2 separate regions of the Homo sapiens genome follow, and region 1 is linked to region 2. The links are contacts of gene promoters, found by promoter capture Hi-C in human tissues and cell types (Jung and others, 2019). All regions are on one chromosome and are shown on one strand. Each heading gives the region's core, a stretch centred on a gene start or on the middle of the fragment in contact. The rest is flanking DNA. Distances are from core to core; before and after follow the strand shown. Region 1 overlaps NRAS (NRAS proto-oncogene, GTPase). Region 2 holds the start of CASQ2 (calsequestrin 2).

Region 1 (2,700 bases), core at 12-2,511, 1.1 Mb after region 2:
GACATTGAGAATCTAGGGTAATTACTGAAAGTTAATACTGGAATTTATTTTACATAATATACTGTTACTATAAAGTTTGATAATACATAAGTGAAGCTTGCTACTGGGAATGACTTGGAACCAGAGTTGTTGTAATTAGAGATCACGAAGGAATTTCAGAGAGGAAAACATCTCCAAGAAACATCTTTCAGTATGTAATGGAAAAGATAGGCCAGGCACAGTGGCTCACACCTGGAATGTCAGTGCTTTGGGAGGCCAAGGCGGGAGGATCACTTTCAGCCCAGGAGTTGGAGACCAGCCTGGGCAACAGAGCAAGACCCTGTCTCTACAAAAATAAAAATAAAAAAATTAGTCACACATGGTGGCAGCTACTCGGGAGGCAGAGGTGGGAGGATCACGTGAGCTCAGGAGGTCGAGGCATGCTCACTCCACTGCACTGCTGCACTCCAGCCTAATCAACAGAGCAAGATTCTGTCTCCAAAAAAAATAAAAAATAAAATGATAGGAGTAAGCAAATAGGAAGTCCATAAAGATGAAAACAAAGCAAGGGAACATAAAGATAGACTTTGTCCATAGAACCATAAAGTTTCAAAGCTAGATTGGACCATAAAAATTCTAGTACAATATTCTTATTTTGCAGAATCAGAAACAGAGTTCAGAATGTCGTTTGTTAGGTTTTGGAGTCAGGATTGTTATTAGTAGCAGAGCCAGGACCAAAAACCCAAAGCTCCTTTTTCTTAGCACAGTGTTCTTAAACAGAATAATATAATGGTTAAGAATGAGAACTCTGCCTGGATTGAAACCTAGCTCTGTTTATTAGCGACGTGACTCAGGGGCTATGTGGCTTTCCTAACCTATAATATGGAAATAATAATACCTACCTCATAGAGTTGTGAAGATTACAGTTTTAATAAATACGCAAATCACTCAGAATAGTGCCTGGCACACAGTAAATGCTACTTAAGTGTTCTGCCTAAAGGCTTGAGTCTTGGCTTATTTTCTATCCATGTGAAGATGTCTGCTCTCAAAAGCAGATTGGTCCAACACTGAATTCAAGTGTTCTTTTCCTAACCTGTTGTACTTCCCATTTTTTTTTTGTCTAAAAGTAATAGCAGTACTTAATAAAATGCCCACACTTGGCATGCATCTAATAAATGTTTTTTGAATTTCTAGAAGTCATTTTTCTTCTTTCTTACAAGAAATTTATTCATTTTTCTATATGCCTTAGCTCAAACCAAAGAGTATTTAAAACATCTTATGAAAATGCATATAGTAGAGCAAGATAAGATTAATGAAAAATAGGCTTAAGTGAGACCAAAAAAATAAGGGTAAAATAAACAAATTTAGGAGTGAGCATATTCTGTGATTGTGCATGAAGTTCCAGTGGCTTTCTAAAGGTGGACTACAAATTTGGTCACTGTTGTGAAAAGGAAAGTAGCCAGCTGAAAGATTCAGTATCTGTATGCTGAAAGCCGTTAAGTTGCTCGGACTAGAAGGAAATTTTCCCATGGATCCTCAAAGAGGCTTGTTTAATGTAAAAATCAGTAGTAACCTGACAGTGACATGGTCCAGGTACTTTAGGCTGTCTTATCCCTTAATGTAGGCTATTACCATCAAGCACAGTTTTGCAAATAGCCAGTGGAATGTAGTTCAGATACATGACTTTGTGGGTAATCCAGGGGTAGAGACTAAAACAGTACTGTGCAGTATGTGGTTATTTACAGTTAATTAAGATTAAATAAAATTTAAAAATTAGTTCCTTGACTACCAAATGCTCAATAGCCACTAGTAGGTACCATGTTGAACAGTACAGATATAGACCATTTCCATCATCACATAAAGTACTGTTGGATTGTGTTGGTCAAGACAATCTAAAGCAATTGTTTCCCAGGTGTGCTGTGTGGTGTGCCTTACATGTCATTGAAAGGGGTGCTGTCAGGAGTTCTAGATGCTTCAGCCTCCCTTTACTAAGAGCAGTTCTTATGTTTTCTATTTTATCGCTTGGGCTTCCAGATACAATGTTTTGTTTTAGGTTTGTTTTTTTTGTTTGTTTGTTTTTTTTTTTTTGAGACGGAGTTTTGCTCTGGTTGCCCAAGCTGGATGGAGTACGGTGGTGCGATCGCGGCTCACTGCAACCTCCGCCTCCCGGGTTCGAGAGATTCTCCTGCCTCAGCTTCCCGAGTAGCTGGAATTACAGGCGTCCACCACCATGCCTGACTAATTTTTTTTGTATTTTTAGTAGACTTGGGGTTTCACCATGTTGGCCGGGCTGGTTTCAAACTCCTGACCTCAGGTGATCCACCCGCCTCGGCCTCCCAGAGGGCTGGGATTACAGGTGTGAACCACCGTGCCCGGCCTGTTTTAGTTTTTTAGAGATGGAGTCTCCCTCTGTTGCCCAAGCCAGAGTGCGGTGGCATGACACTCTCAGGGTTCAACCTCTCAGGGATCAAGGGATCCTCCCACCTCAGCTTCCTGAGTAGCTGGAACCACAGGCACATGTGCCACCATGCCCAGCTAATTTTTGTATTTTTTGTAGAAGCAAGGTTTCACCATGTTGCCCAGGCTGGTCTCGGACTCCTAGGTCAAGTGATCCTCCCACCTCAATCTCCTAGAGTGCTAAGACTATAGGCGGGAGTCACCATGCCCAGCTTCATCTACAATTTATTTGAAGAAAATGTTTGAGCACCACCCATCTTGAAA
Region 2 (2,700 bases), core at 128-2,627:
CTTGCTTTACTCAGAGAGGCCACGGATCTTCTCTTTGCCTTCTAGCCCCTGCAGAAGCTGTGCATGACAGAGTACTCTGTCTTTCCAAAGCTGATTTATAACTGAAGGAGAACAAAAACTTGGTCAGAATCATGAATGCCCTAGATGCCTTTGAAGAGTGGAGAGACATGACTGGACTAGGGTTGGACTGGAAGAGATGGTCAAGAAGGTACTTAAGAAAAGGGGTGTCTGCAAGGGAATCACCCAGAGTCAGAGGCAAAACAGCCAGGAGCAGCAGCTTTGAGGCAGGGTTGGATTCTTGCTCCGGCAGTTAGAAATGCTGCAAACTCAGACAAGTTGCTGTTAGCTCAGCGGTAGGATGAGCCCTGATCCCTTTTGCCCCAATTGCCTACTGGATTCAAGGAGAAAATGGACAAGAAAGGGTTCACAAACCATTCATATTAGAAACAGACAAATATCCATTATATAACCAATGTTCCACCAGCTCCAATGAGAAGTAAGTATAATAGCTACTATTTTTGAGCACCTATTTTGTGCCATGCTTTTTCATCTATGTGTTTGAAACTTTATGGTTATTATCAGCCCCACTTTACATAGAGGGGAACTGAGAATCAGAGAGGGCAAGTGACCCTCCAAAGTTCATTAGCTGTTAAAAGGCAGAGTAGGGATTTGAACTGTGAACCTTGTTTCATTTTAGTTTAATGAGGACAGGTTCTTCTGGTGTCAGCTGGGTTCAGCAGGGTGTCCCTGCACCCCTCGCCCAGTGGCTGGCAGAGGATTTTTAAGAAGAGAGGAGGGAAGGCAGAAAAAGACAGGAGTAGAACATGAAGAAGTCTACCTCGGGGCTCCATTTTGTTCCATGTTGCAGTGAGGAACAGAGGATGAACAACCACCGTGAGGGGACAGGCTGAGTTACCACCCTGGGGTGATTTAACAATTCAGTAATGTATGAGTGTCATTCCGTATGTTTGAACTCTCCATTTGCTTATTGGCACCATAGTCCCTTATCTCTCTCCCTCTCGAGTTTCTTTCTCTTCTTTGACCTTTCTAGCCTCCTTATTTCATGCGTGTACATTCTTGTCTTTTTCCTTCTGCCTCTTCCCTCTTCACCAGTCGGACAGACTGTATCAGCGAATCCCTCTACAGTGTCGTATCTAACTTTTTTATTCATTGCATGATTTATTTTTAGCCTGAAACAACTGCATCCTAAAAATGGAGTTCCTAATGAGACAGAGGCTGAGCAGAGCTATGTAAGGTATCTGGGGCTTGGCCTCCCAGCCTCCCTAGCTTGGCTGTTTTTCTACTCTCATGCGTGCGTGCGTGCGTGCGTGTGTGTGTGTGTGTGCCTCTGCTCTTTGTCCTGAGCCCACGATTCCAGAGCTGGCTGGACCCAAGGAGGTGAAGAGTCACTTTTCAGCCCCAGGAAGGGCAAAGAAGAGAGAAAATCAGCCTGTCTGCTCTCTCCTTGGCTCAACAAGGCCTCTAACAGTCTTCTGTCCTCTATTCTGCACACAGCATATTTGGGAACGAGAAACAAAAGTTTTCCCAAATGAAGAGAACTCACTTGTTTATTGTGGGGATTTATTTTCTGTCCTCTTGCAGGGCAGAAGAGGGGCTTAATTTCCCCACATATGATGGGAAGGACCGAGTGGTAAGTCTTTCCGAGAAGAACTTCAAGCAGGTTTTAAAGAAATATGACTTGCTTTGCCTCTACTACCATGAGCCGGTGTCTTCAGATAAGGTCACGCAAAAACAGTTCCAACTGAAAGAAATCGTGCTTGAGGTAAGTAACCAAAGGGCATGCTGTCTGCGCTGCCTCAGTGAGGTGCCGAGGGAATGCCTTTGGCCAGGGGTTGGGATATGGGAACGAGGATGCAGAGAATATATACTGAACTCTGCTTTATTTTGGCCTCACGTGAATCAGATGCCCTTGTCACACAGCTGGGATGTGTGAACAATGAGGGGTGGGTCCTAACTCTTCAAATGAAGAGGACCAAACGTGCTACACTACGATGGGTCTGATGTAAAGTCTTTATGGCCCCCTTGACTTTTCAAGGGCCCTTGTCCCAGCCATTGTTTCCCAGATAGAATGTAGAAACTATTGTTAAAACTGTTGGCTGAAATGAAATCCAGGGACTACTTGTGGATTTCATTCAGTGTGCCCACTTTGCTCCCTCAAATCTCCCCATGATCCTGGAGAGACCAGAGTTACTTGACCTTGCGTCTCTCTGGGGGTCAGACGGAGAATATCACTAAATGACTTTCCTCTCTCTTGTTTTGCGTCAGTCAGCATTACAGAATGTAGTTGTGTGCAGATCTTCTGAGCAGCATATTCATTTATGTGATTTTTTTTCTCAGAAAGTTCTTGGTGTGACTTTAGGGCAGAGCTGAAGTCAGTTCTTATTTTATCCGCATTACATGGCCTGCCTGTTTGTAACCTGGCACTGGGGCCCATTTTCTAATCCTTTGCGAGTGCCCCAGAAACTATTCCTGCAGCTCCTCCTGGACAGCTTAAGATGGCTTACACTTTAAGAGGGCCTGAGGGTGCCAAGAATGCTAGTGGGCACCAAGATGCCTCATCAGTCTCCACGCCTAGCCCAGGCGCAAACCTGTGAAAGGGATATTTGAGAATTACAGTTTATTAACCAGCACAATCAGAGAACTCAGGTTGATGAAATAGTTTAATAGGATTATCATATA

Evidence for each region. Contacts are between HindIII fragments. The study calls those that stand out against the background at their distance.
Region 1: a contact is called between a fragment that was not itself captured here and the fragment with the promoter of CASQ2 in region 2, in 1 of the 25 tissues and cell types used here (adrenal gland).

What each region holds. Positions count from the first base shown.
Region 1 is chr1:114,710,973-114,713,672 of GRCh38, reverse strand. All of the region lies in intron 3 of NRAS (NRAS proto-oncogene, GTPase), which reads left to right. Among named protein-coding and RNA genes, the nearest start is that of NRAS, 4.4 kb to the left of the region's middle. The HindIII fragment of the contact is 7,324 bases long and covers 1-2,700 here.
Region 2 is chr1:115,767,391-115,770,090 of GRCh38, reverse strand. It overlaps CASQ2 (calsequestrin 2), which reads left to right and starts at 1,377. Exons shown (of 11, transcript NM_001232.4): 1 at 1,377-1,783. The coding sequence starts at 1,550. The HindIII fragment of the contact is 10,019 bases long and covers 1-2,700 here.